3 separate regions of the Homo sapiens genome follow, and regions 2 and 3 are each linked to region 1. The links are contacts of gene promoters, found by promoter capture Hi-C in blood cells and fetal thymus (Javierre and others, 2016). All regions are on one chromosome and are shown on one strand. The core of a region is centred on a gene start or on the middle of the fragment in contact, and the rest is flanking DNA. Distances in the headings are between cores, read along the strand shown. Region 1 holds the start of RIPPLY2 (ripply transcriptional repressor 2). Region 2 has its middle 45 kb from the start of LINC02857. Region 3 overlaps RIPPLY2-CYB5R4 (RIPPLY2-CYB5R4 readthrough).

What was found. Contacts are between HindIII fragments. The CHiCAGO score rates a contact against its expected background, and 5 or more counts as called.
Region 2: a fragment that was not itself captured here is called in contact with the fragment with the promoter of RIPPLY2 in region 1 in 1 of 17 cell types (neutrophils); the score reaches 5.5 in neutrophils.
Region 3: a fragment that was not itself captured here is called in contact with the fragment with the promoter of RIPPLY2 in region 1 in 1 of 17 cell types (neutrophils); the score reaches 6.6 in neutrophils.

The regions. Positions count from the first base shown.
Region 1 is chr6:83,850,799-83,855,126 of GRCh38, forward strand. It overlaps RIPPLY2 (ripply transcriptional repressor 2), which reads left to right and starts at 2,562. Exons shown (of 4, transcript NM_001009994.3): 1 at 2,562-2,713; 2 at 2,897-2,975; 3 at 3,299-3,363. The coding sequence starts at 2,619. RIPPLY2-CYB5R4 (RIPPLY2-CYB5R4 readthrough) reads left to right here and starts at 2,562. Exons shown (of 18, transcript NR_174604.1): 1 at 2,562-2,713; 2 at 2,897-2,975; 3 at 3,299-3,363. The HindIII fragment of the contact is 2,033 bases long and covers 1,303-3,335 here.
Region 2 is chr6:83,973,287-83,977,614 of GRCh38, forward strand. No RefSeq gene overlaps it. Among named protein-coding and RNA genes, the nearest start is that of LINC02857, 45 kb to the right of the region's middle. RefSeq lists a cis regulatory region at 1,165-1,770 and enhancers at 3,161-4,328, 3,664-3,958. The HindIII fragment of the contact is 8,700 bases long and covers 1-4,328 here.
Region 3 is chr6:83,952,759-83,957,086 of GRCh38, forward strand. It overlaps RIPPLY2-CYB5R4 (RIPPLY2-CYB5R4 readthrough), which reads left to right. Exons shown (of 18, transcript NR_174604.1): 17 at 2,540-2,704. It overlaps CYB5R4 (cytochrome b5 reductase 4), which reads left to right. Exons shown (of 16, transcript NM_016230.4): 15 at 2,540-2,704. Among named protein-coding and RNA genes, the nearest start is that of LINC02857, 66 kb to the right of the region's middle. The HindIII fragment of the contact is 1,886 bases long and covers 1,139-3,024 here.

The sequences.
Region 1 (4,328 bases), core at 1,312-3,811:
CTCCCTATCTCTAGCCTTTCCTAAATCCATTTTCCATATGGCTGCCTGAGTGATTTTTATAAAATGCCATTCCACTTTCCTGCTTAAAATCTTTCATCAGTGCTTACAGAATAAAGTGAAAATGACTTAGCATAGAATTTTAGGCTCTTGATAGTCCAAACCCCTTCTATCTCTACAGCATCTCTGCTCCAGAGATATCCAGTCCCTTTTCTTCTCACTCCTGAACAACCCAGACAATACCATTCTTTGATTAATCCTTCCAAAAATATCAACTTAGATTTGATTTACTCTAAGAAGGCTTTCCTGGTTATCCCAAACAGACTTCTTAAGTTCCTCCCACCTATCTGCCTAAAATGCGCTTTTACTATTGAATGTGTCACTTTAAATTTTTTTTTTTTTTTTTTTTTTTGCTTATGTGTTTATTGTAGTGGTCAGAGTTTGGAATAATTGTAACCTTCTCAAGGATAGGAGGAATACCTTACTGTCCTTATCTGGAAAGCACAGTAGTTAGCACATTACAGCCACCTCAAAAAGATTTTTTTTTATTTTTTATTTTCATTTTAAGTTCTGTGGTACATGTGCAGGATGTGCAGGTTTGTTACATAGGTAAACATGTGCCATGGTGGTTTGCTGCACCTATCAACCTATCACCTAGGTATTAAGCCTAGCATGCATTAGCTATTTTTCCTAATCCTCTCTCTCCTCCCACCCCACCCACTGACATGCCCAGTGTGTGTTTTTCCCCTCCCTGTGTCCAGATGTTCTCATTATTCAGCTCCCACTTATAAGTGAGAACATGCAGTGTTTGGTTTTATGTTCCTGCGTTAGTTTGCTGAGGATAACGGCTTCCAGCTCCATCCACGTCCTTGGAAAGGACATGATCTTGTTCCTTTTTATGGCTGCATAGTATTTCGTGTTGTGTATGTACCACATTTTCTTTATCCAGTCTATTACTGATGGGCATTTGAGTTGAATCCATATCTTTGCTATCGCAAATAGTGCTGCAATGAACATACGCATACAAACATTATGCATGCCATCTTTGTAAAATAACGATTGATATTCCTTTGCATATATCCCTAGTAATGGGATTGCTAGGTCAAATGGTACTTCTGGTTCTAGGTCTTTGAGGAATCACCACACCATCTTCCACAATGATTTAACTAGTTTACATTATGGAACTGAAATAATAAGCCATTTTATCAGAAAGGTTAACATCTGTTAAGGCCTTATATTTTTTTACGTAGCTTAAAATCTGTTGAAGGCTTACTATATGCCAGGCACTGCAAAACGCATTTTATAAGCTTTATTTTATTTAGCCTAACAATAACTGTAGGGGATGCAGACATGCATTAGGTATCTATCCTTACTGATTTTCTTATCAGAAGCAACCCAAATCTCACCTTCCTGGCAGGTAGATCATTATAGGCTCTTAGCTACTATTAATAATTAAATTATTTTCCTATGCAGTAGCTGAATGAATAGCAGAGACAACTATAGTTTACAATCAAGATTTTTGTCTAAACTTTTAAGAGAAAGTCCAGTTTTATTATTTAAAACATTTTGAAAAAAATTATAACATTTATATATCATCTTTTCCTCGATGCATAACACTTTTTACAAAGTTTAGTGGTAGATAAGTGAGGGGTAACTCAAATCAGAGAAACAGGGGTGCAGACGTTTGATTAACTTGTCTCATATCATAACTTTTCAAGATTTCATTATCATTCCACAACACTGCCCTCAAAAAAGAATTTTGTAATTACCATTGAGTGACAAAATACCAAGTAGTGACAGAGGTGTATAGACGAACTCAAAAGTTATTGTAGGAGGACACTGATAAAATGTTGGGGAAAATCACAAAAGACACGAGAAGATAATTTAGAGCTCTATGCCCAAATCACATGACTCCAGTCTCTGGCTCTCTTAGCCAGAACAGCGAATCTTTTACAATTTACCTCTTGTTGCCAATAATTTTCTATTATCTTCAAATAATAATAGGCTGGAGTATGAACCTAGTTTATCAATACTTTTTTAAAAAACCGACATTCCTCTCTTAAGGAGTCCATGCATTCTCCCCATTTTTTAGAAAATTGTTCCATGAAGAGGAATTAAGTTTATTCCTTTGAATTCTAGTCTGCATCCCAGCTTTTAGAACACGGGATGCAGAACCAGTTGATTTGCCACAGGCCAAGTCCTGAGTCTCCAGCGAATCAAGCAATTAACCAGTCACTTGGCCTTTTTGCAGAAATCCACAAAACGTGTAGACTCGCTTAATTCCATCTCCTCCTGGCCTCTTCACACGGAAATTGGCTGCTCGGGCGAATGTTGTTTTTCTCCGCAGCCATGTGTCGAAGGGCGATTAACATTCGCTCGACAAAACCCTGTCCCGGGCCATTTGGGAGTTGCACGCGTTCACACCCGGGGCTCAGCCCGGTGCGCCTTCACGCGCAGCCTTTTTGTTTATGCGGCTAGCAGGGAGAGGGGCGGAGAGGCAGCGAACCTCTCAATGTGCAGCAGGCCGCGAGGGCTATATAAAGCTCGGGTCTCGGACCTACTGGAACTGGTCAAGATTGCCCGCGAGCTGGCAGCGGCCTTCCGCCCAGCTCTGCGGCGTCATGGAGAACGCGGGAGGCGCAGAGGGTACAGAGAGTGGAGCTGCGGCGTGCGCGGCCACCGACGGCCCTACGCGGCGCGCGGGCGCGGACTCCGGGTAGGCTTCCCCGCGCTGCTCTGCGCCTCCCAGCTTCCCCCGTCTCTCCCTCCTGCGCCTCCCCAGCTCCTCCCCTCCAACTCTCCATCCCCCACTGCCCGGTGCCAGCGCTCGGCTTCGGTGGATTCTCCCGGGTCTGGGCTCACGTCTCCTCTGCGCGCCTTGTGCTCCCCTATCCCGCAGATACGCAGGCTTCTGGAGACCCTGGGTGGACGCCGGAGGCAAGAAAGAAGAGGAGACGCCGAACCACGCCGCGGAGGCGGTGAGTGAGCCACGCGTCTCAGGCCGCGCCTCCCACGGGTGCAGAAGATCGACCAGGGCTCTCGGGACGCAGGGCCTGAGAGAGACATGCGAGACACCGGGTCCTGCCTCTCGCTTAACATCCCGCCTGCCGGTGGCCATAAAGGTGCCGACGCGGCGGATGTGTCCTCTGGAGCGATGGGCCACAGGCACCCAGCCGGGAGCGAGGCTGCTGAGAGCCCTGGGGTTACATTCCCAGCGGGCACGAGGAACACTGGGTCGTGCACGTTTCCACTTTCTAGAAGGAGGTGGGTGATAACTGGATTCACTTCCTTTCCTCTCCAGATGCCCGATGGCCCTGGAATGACCGCAGCCTCAGGAAAGCTTTACCAATTCAGGCACCCAGTCAGGTGAGTGACAGGCCTCGCCGAAGGTCTCCCGCTCCTCCAGCCCCAGGGAGGAGCCAGGGGCATCGCGCAGCCCAGCTCCGCAGCTGGTCCTGCAGTCTCTCTCTCTCTCTCTGAAAATCTGGCTTCAAGGTTACTTATCTTCTCACTCATCAAATTGAAAAAGGTAGGGGCTCACGGTCCCACGTAAAGGGACTGTTGATGAATACATACTCAGTGAACTTGATGAATATATTACGAAGAGGGAAAGGGGATGATATGGTAAGAGAGCGGTGACATCTTGTGCTGGCAAAACAGTTTTTATTTTTAAATCCTAAAGGGTTCGAATGAAATTGACTTCGCATCAGGCAGAGTGTGTATGCTGCTTTTGTCTTGCAATCTGGAAGGAAGAATGGGATTAACAGTTACAGTCTTACAAGTTTGCCGAGTAGGAAAAAATAGAAATGTAATGAAAATCCTAAAGATTATTGAGAATGGTTATAGAAAGGGTCAAAAGTTTATTTAACTTGCGGAGCTAGTTTACTGTTCCTAGTCACAGGAAGTCAGCCTTTATCTAAGATTCTGTGTCACTTTTATTCAGGTGAAATGTTAAGAATTCTGCAGTTTTCCTGCCTCCGAGAGCTGTTAAATGAAGAGCTGGATGATGTTTGTAAAGTGCCCCTGGTCATAAATAACACATAGAAGTCATTACATCTAATTTCCTACCGTGTGCTAGCACTGGTGAAGGACACAGGAAAAAGTAGTCACAGCACATGGCAAGTGTTGTAATGGAATTTAGTTTGGTTAGTTTTACAAGTATGGGCAGGGCACGAAGTGCCTAAATCTGTCAGTGGTAGGGGGAAGGGTCAGGGAAGTGTATATTATAAGTTGTGGTTACCTGGCTGAGTCTTGGAAAAGTTAGTCAGATGAATGGGAAGTGGGAGCAAAAGAAATAGCATTGGAAAAGAGAAGCAGGATCATGAAACGGT
Region 2 (4,328 bases), core at 469-2,968, 120 kb after region 1:
GTGCTTGAATTAGTTAGACAGAGGAAGAGTGTATCCTGGGTCATAAGTGAAAGTTTTTGATTTCATAAAGTCAAGAGCCCAGAATGTTATGTTAGAAGAAAACATTTCCTTTTAGAACTTTAAGATAAAGCGTTTTTAGCAGCAGGCCACAACATCAGTTAGAACCTAAGGAAAAAAGGTTACAGGAGCTGATGAAAGAGTTGAAGAAGAAAGTTATTATCTCAGGCCTTCTCAAAGGGTAAACAAAGCTAAACACAGTGAGATGCAATAAAAGAACTTTTGGGTTTAAAAATTTAAAATCTCTTGTAATTTTATTAAAAATAAATCAGTACCTTTTAATATCTTTTATTAAGAGTAAATCAATTTCCTTTTAATTATAGCCAACTTGATCACATAGGTTTTTTTCATAAATTCACTTTTTACAAACCCTATTACAATTTACACAAACCATTTATGACATGTTTGGACTTCCTGTTTTATCCTAAACATTCTTTTTTCTTAAATAACCAGGCATTTTATTTTAGGGCAAAAAATGTATAATACAAAATTGTTTCTCATATAAAATTATATTCCTTTTAATACCTCTTTATATTTACAACTTTCTTGTCATCTCTCTTACTTAATGGTTCCTTTACCTTGTTTTATAAATAACCTTTAAATAACCTTTGAAGTAGACAAAATTTTTTTTTTAATAAGGACCCATTATTTTTTAGAAAAATGTTTTCCTGTAATTTTTTTAAAATATTGGAAAGACCCATTTAATTAATATTTATTATTAATTTAACTTTAGATTCTAAATTATATGACAAGTTTTTATAAGCATTTATTCCATTATACTTACCTAATTAATTTCTTAATATTTTACCTAGATTCGTTATGAAAACTATGATAATCATTTAAAGTTATTTCCCTATTATCCATTTTTATAGCCTATGGATTTCAGGTGTTTATCTAAGTAAGAACCTTAAGGTTAAATAAATAGGTGGTGGGGGAGTTGCCAATAATTCAAGATTTAGTTGTTTTAGTTAAACCAATTGAAACCAGCCTTGTTGTCTGGGGTGTCACCGAAAGTTCTTGGTCTCATGGCTGAGGAAATCAAGGACCTGGACACTCCAAAGGTGAAGTTAGAGCAGAATTTTAATAAGCAAAAGGAAGAAAGCTCTCTGGCACCAAGAGGGGTCCTAGAAAAATGGGTTGCCATTTTACAGTGAAATGCAAAGGTTTTTATAGACAAACTGGTGGGGAGGTGTGTTTCATTTATATACTGCACAAAAAAAATCAGGAGTAGGTGTTTCATTTGCATATGGCACAAATTTCTGACAGTCTTCACCCCAACCTTTCTAGTGCACATGTGGGCTCCTTAGTCTGAGTTACTCCATCTTGCTTATCTCTTCCTACTGCGTATGTGTGGAAAAAAAAAAAAGAGGAGAGGGTCAGAACCCTCTGTGGTGGATGTGCCTGGTCCAGGGTCGCTCTTCTTATCAGTGCTGCTGCAGGCACTTCCCCTGTGCAAGCCTCCTTGTCTGAGCATTTCCAAGAAGGGAGAGGAATGTGCTCTACTTGGGCTCAATATATATCAGCAAAACTTGTTGATTACATACGAGGTCCCATTCTGTGTTAGAACTTGCCTTCCTTATCTGTGTTTGCAGCCTGATCTTTCAGGCTGCTCTTTGCTAAAAGAGAAATGACTTGTTGGGCTGCTTTTTGTTAGAAGAGAAGCTGCTTTTTGTTGGAAGGGAATTCTACTGAGGACTCTAGCCCTAACTATCTGCCTAGTTGATTTCTTTCTCTCTTCTCTCTCACAATAATATTAAATTTCTTATTTATCAAAAAATTATATAAGATAAAATTCTCTTTGGGGCTACATTTACAGCTTTATAACTCATGCTAAATCTTGATACCTCATAATATTTAGCAGAGATAAATAGAAAACTTCCTAGCTAATAAATCTAAACAATAATGTAGGCTGACAATTCTGAAGACATTTCTAATTTTATTTTACCAATAACTTTAAAGCCAGCTTGTTTATTTGCAATTTACTTATGTCACGTGAACTTGCAAAGCATTTTGGCTCATTTACTTAATTCCTGAGTAGTCCTTTATTTCTAATCCAATTTGGTACCTTGTGGCCACAACACGTAACAAAACACATGTATGTACACCTTAACTCACCTAAGCATGCATACACATATGTACAGATAAACACATCTAAGCACATACACATACTCGTACAAATAAAGATCCTATAGCTTTTACTTCAGAACTCTACTCATGAGATATTAATACAAACTTACCAGTTTACCACAAATGGTTGGATGCAAATAGTGTTTTTTTTCTCAACACCAGTAGAAAGGTCCTTCAAATTGGAAAAAAAAAGTACATTTTCTTAAGCAAAAATCACATCCTCATTGTTTTTTTTGCAAACTTCACCAAAACCGCATCTTATTCTCCTACTATTCTAACTCTCAGTAACCCTAATTCCCAGAGAAAACATAGGATTACTTAATTTAACATAACATGACCTTAAGATTTTAAATTGCTGGAGAAAATTTTGAGACTAAATTAACCAAATTAATCTTACCAAAGATGACTAACGTCATGTGAACTGAAAAGCCTCTGAGCTAGCTTCTATTAGTCTGACAAATGTTTACTTTTCTTTAAGCCAACTAATTAGATGTCTTTCATATAATTGGTACTGAAATATTTTCACATGACACATATGAACATACAGACATAATAGACTCAGAGGCAGATCTTATAGATTTAAAATTTTTCATTTGCTAGTATTCAAAAATTCTCTCTTCCCTACTTTAGACTATGAACCTCTTCATTATCTGTTCCATGTCCTAAATCATTGTTAACTAGGTAATTCTAAATTTGCATCTCCAAAGATATGAATCACGTGAAACAAGGTAGAAAATGTACAACTCAAAGGCACAGGATTAGATCTAAACAAAGACAAGTTTTGTTATGTAAACTTTAAGCTATTGTCTTACCCCTAGTTAAAGTTCCATTAGGAACTTTAGGTGCAGAGACAGATATGCCCTTACAAAATGTAAATTTCCTTTAAAGGTGGTATTTTCAACTTAGCTGCTTAATTAGATTACTGGCTTTAGGGTGGAGGCCTTTAAGGAATGGGGCGAAGAAAGTATACAGGATTTTCTTATCTAAACATTAAAAACAAAGAGTAGTCGTCCCCTATAGTAATGACCATTTCCTGTAAACTGCCCTCAACCACCCCTAACATTGTAGCTCTCATGCAGCATTACACACGCCAAAGGCAAATACTCTCACAGTACAAGGTGATCTCTGGTACTCCCAAAAGCCAAATAAATCAGGTAATGCGATACAAGAAAGCAGAGCTTTAGACCTGAGAAGAATCAGCACATGACTGTTGAAACTCCACAGCAAATCAGAACAGCTCAAAAAGGGGTGAGTGGCACCTTAATTCTGAGTTCTTTAAGGGGTCTGAGTCATTAGAAGCCTTCTCTATTTTCTTTTCACTTGGTACTGAAGATGGCAAAAGGAGAAGGAGATGTTAGATATGAGTTCTAAATTTCTTTTCAAAGAATCAATATGTCAGTATGTTCAATTCTTTGCCTTCTACTTTTAAACTTAACTTCCTCATAAAGCAATCTTTGTCGATTACCTGCTCAACCCTGACTGATTTCAATCACCTGTTCCACCCCGACTCACTCCGTTTACCTCCTCCACCCTGACTCATTCCGATGACCTGCTACCTGCTCCACCCTGACTCATTATCCACCCTGCATAACCATTTTTCCCGCCAAACCACTCACCCCCACCCCCTCACTCTCTTTAAATTAGCCAGTTGGAATTAGTTTATCCTGTGCAGTCTAACCCTAGCCAATAGGGGAATGACACAGCAGCAAGGGCCACGTGCGTCAGGGATAAGAACCCCTTCCCCTCCCTTGTCCAAGTGTGCGCTCACCATTGCTCCACTCTTCTATAGAAGTACCTTGCCTCGCTGAGAATTAAAAAGAAAATATTATATTCAAGTGCTATTTCTTTTGTGGCACCAAAACTTTATAACAGACAAATAGAGTAGAAGAAAAGTAAATGAGAGGACAATTTTTAAAGAAAGGAAGTGAACAGAGAAACCAAATGCGTGCCTTTTTTTTTTTTTTTTTTTTTTTTTTTTTGCAGCTGCATGGAATTTTAGTGAATCCAGAGGCCTTGTTCCCCGTAATTTGGAGTTCTCCTTCGAATTTGACCAACTCAGGTAGAGTTAATCAAATCTGATGGAAGAAAACCAAAATAACAAAACAAATATGATTACTGAGGACTTTTAATGGTAAGGAGAAGTT
Region 3 (4,328 bases), core at 832-3,331, 100 kb after region 1:
TGAAGTAAATATTATATATCAGATAGACATAGGAAGAAGGCACAGTGACACTCTGTGGCTCATCTCCCTGTAGTGCTGACAGGCTCTGTGGACTATATGTTTTTGTCTTCTGATGTCAGTATTGGGACTGGCAATGTGGCAGTTCCATTTAAGTTAGCAAAAGCTGATGATGCCAGAAGCAGAAGTAAATTGAACAGTATACCTGAAACTGTTTCTTTTTCCCCAGCCTCTTATGCTGACAGATATGCAGCCCACTAATCTGGAGCCTTATAGCACTTTCGGTTTCTTCCAGGAGATGTTCCTCAGATGTTGTGTTGCTCAGAATGTGTTCTTTGAAATGTTAATGTGTTCCCCGGAATGGACTCTGTGATTGAATAAATTTGGGAAACAGTATATGCCTTCCTGAAGATTTACTCTGAACTTAGCATATATAAGGCTTTCTGAAATTCTACGGAAATATATTTAACTTTTTTTAACCCAGTATGTCACAGACTTATTTGATAGTTAGCCTGCTTTCATGGAATAACTACTAACATCTGGAGGCATACTAGTGTTTCATTAGATTCATTTTAAGAAATGTTTCCATATAATTATGGAAACATATATAATTATATATATTTTATCTAATTTTGATTCCTAGTTTTGTGAGATTTTTTTCCTTTGAGCACATAGCAATTTTTACTACAGTTGCAGGCATTTTCTTTAGCTAGAAAAAAAACAAAAAACAAAAAAAACAAAAGCAGGAAAAGCTGGGGCCCCAAGTACTCTGAAATACCAATCTGTGGGCAGTGAGGAATCACTGAAGCTTTTAAGCAAAAAAGTTGTAAAGTTGTATCAGAGTTTTTAGGGGAACTAATATGGCAATGGTATATCAAATAGATTAAGGGCTAAGGCTGTTAATGTAATATTTTAGATGAGATATAAGAACCTGATCTGGAGTTGTGACAGTAAAAATGGGAAGGTAAGGGACTTTGTGTGAGAAAATGAAGGAGGCAAGTTGCTGAAGCTGATTGGCTAGAGGAGGAGGGAATAAGTCGTTGGATGACTGCTAATGATTTAGACTAAATGAATACATTTGTATTTCAAGACTTGTCATCTCAGATCACTATCAGCCTACTTTAAAATAAAATTTTTGACAAGCTTACTTAGATTGACGTTTGAGATCACATAGGCACTCATCAGAAGCAGGTCTGTTCTCTTCCTCTTTCATATTACTTTGTATTTTATGGGTTATCTGAATTTATTTTCAGGTAACCTTTTCAAGGGTCCCAACCCCTTCTGGCACTTTTGAAATTATAAAAGAATTTCAGGATGTTTACTGTGTGCCCCCCACATGTCTCCAGCATCTCAAAGCTGTAATTTTTTAGACAGTAAGTTAACCTTCATTCAGAAAACCCAGGAGAGAGTATTCCACAGGAATTGTCTATATTTTGATATAAAAAATCTTTCATTAAAGAATTATTGAGTCTTAACTTGGGAATGCTCCTGTTCCAGTTTAAGCTCTTTTCTCAGCGTATGAAAAGGAGATAAGCAGGATAACAGCCTCTTTAGAATATCCTTAAATTGCAGCCAGAGATTAAAATGCATGTGTCACTGGTAATTGCTATTTACTGTGATTTATACCAGCATATTATTATTGTTTATTTTGGGTTCAGGGGGTACATGTGCAGGTTTGCTTGAAGGGTATATTGCGTGATGCTGAAATTTGGATTTCTATTGATCTTGTCACCTAGACAATGAACATAGTACACACTAGGAGGGTTTTCAGCCCTTGCCCCTTTCCCTACACCTCCCTCCTTTTGGAGCCCCCAGTGTCTATTGTTCTCATCTTTATGTTCTTATGTACACAGGGTTTAGCTCCACTCATAAGTGAGAACATGCAATATTTGTTCTTTTTTTTCAATACTAGTAGATTATTAATAGAAATGTAGCGTTCTCTGAGATCCCTTGGGATCTTTATTTCATTTATATATTTATTTTTAATTAATTTCTTTTTTAAGAGACAGGTTCTTGCTCTGTTGCCTAGGCTGGTGCAATCATATCTCACTGGATCAAACGATCCTCCTGCCTCAGCTTCCCAAATAGCTAGGACCACAGGCACATGCCACCACACCTGGCTAAGTTTAAACAGTTTTTTTTGTTGTTGTTGTTTTTGGGTTTTTTTTTTTGTAGAAACTAGGTCTCACTGTGTTGCCCAGGCTGGTCTCAAACTCCTGTTCTCAAACAATCCTCCCACCTTGGCCTCCCAAGATGCTAGGGTTACAGGTGTGAGCTACCATGCTTGGATAATTAGTTCAATTTAAAAAAAAATGCCAAATTACATTCCTTATCTATAGGAAAAGCTAATCCTTAGTAAATATAGATTTACCTATACGTTTTTGTTAAATCTTACAATTTTTTTCAGTGTTTTTCTAGCAAGTAAGTGTATCTTTATATATTAAATTGTTCCTTTAGGGGAGAAATATATTCTTGAACTTGAAACATGTTAATAATATGTTTAAAATAATAAACTTTAAAAAGCTGTTTTTCTTTTCCCTAGACTGGATGTTGAATTTGTTCTCTCAGCACCTATTTCTGAATGGAATGGCAAACAGGGACATATTTCACCAGCTCTTCTTTCTGAATTTTTGAAAAGAAATTTGGACAAATCCAAAGTTCTCGTCTGCATTTGTGGACCAGTGCCATTTACAGAACAAGGAGTAAGGTGAGTAACAGTGTAGTAGGAAACAGACTGCCCAACACTGAAGTGAAGATCTTTCATAACAAGCATCTCTCAGTTCTTCCTGTTTATATGAAACTGCACTTTAATAATCTTACAGTTTTAGAAAATAACAAAGTCTTTAAATCTTCGTATAGTTTGAGTTGGAGGCCAGGATTATGCATATTGTTAGATAAAACATAAAAGTAAGTTACAGCCAGCAGTCAGTGTTCTCTGCTCGTGATGGCTGCCAATATTGTTACACTCACAAGATTGGTGCCACAATTCTTATTTGGGACATTAGGCCCAACCTCTTCTTCCATCAAAGCTTCATAATATATAGTAATTAATAAGGAATGTTCATCTCATTGTAGCTTTTGATCTTCATTCTCTGTAACTGAGTGAAAGTAAATAATATATGTGATCAAAAGCCAAGCAGCAAGACAAAAAGGGAAGACTAGAACACAAATAAGGCAAGACTAATAGTTGAAGCATGGATCATGAAAAATCAGTGGTAGTGGCGATCCTGTTTGAAATTCATCTTGATGTGATTTAGCTTTAAAATGGCACTTTAAAATATTTGGTTAAATATAGCCCCTATTGGATTTCTAGATAATTTTAAAATATGGCTGTTCTAAGTGCCCTATTCTTATTTAGTAGGTGACTAACCTAACATTTCTAGATGTTGATGAAAAAAGTCAAACTCTGTAAAATCTTTGAAGAGATTTATTCTGAGCCAAATATAGTGACCGTGGCCTGTGACACAGCCCTCAGGAGGTCCTGAGAACATGTGCCCAAGGTGGTCGGGGCATAGCTTGGTTTGATACATTTTAGGGAGGCATGAGACATCAATCAAATACATTTAAGAAATACATTAGTTTGGTCCAGAAAGGCAGGACAACTCAAAGCTGGATTGGGGGGGGCACGGGTTTCCAGGCTCTAGGTAAGTTTAAACATTTAAACATTTTCTGGTTGACAATTGGTTGAGTTTGTCTAAAGACCTGAGATCCACAGAAAGGGAATGTTCAGGTTAAGATAAAAGATTGTGGAGACCAAGGTTCTTTTGAAGTCTTACAGTGGCTGCCCTTAGAGATAATAGATGACAATGTTTCCTGTTCAGACCTTTAAAAGGTACTAGACTCTTAGTTAACCTCTTCAGGATTGGACTGGCCTGGAAGAAGAAGATCTAGCTATGTTAATAGGATTCTTTACAGATGCAAATTTTCCCCCACAAAGGACAGATTTGCAGGGCCATTTCAAGACATGGCAAAGAAACATGTTTTGGGGTAAAACATTTTTATTTTCTTCCTTGTCTCGTAATGTTATGCCAGAGTCAGGTTGGAAAGTAAGTCACGATATATGGGGTTAAATAAAACCCATCTGATGAGAATTTATGGTTTGTAGGGCATGACTTCCCAGACCCCTTAGATAGGAATTTGGGCAAGATAAAAAAAAAAAAAAAATCAGAGTTTAGTCCTCATAGATAATCTTATATCTTGCTTTTTTATTTAAAATTTTAATTGTAGAAAAGATTGACCCCCCAATCAATAAAAACATTAAAAACTTTTTTCTTGTCATATTTAAAATGTATTTTATTTTTAATTAAATATATTTCTATTTTAATGCTTTA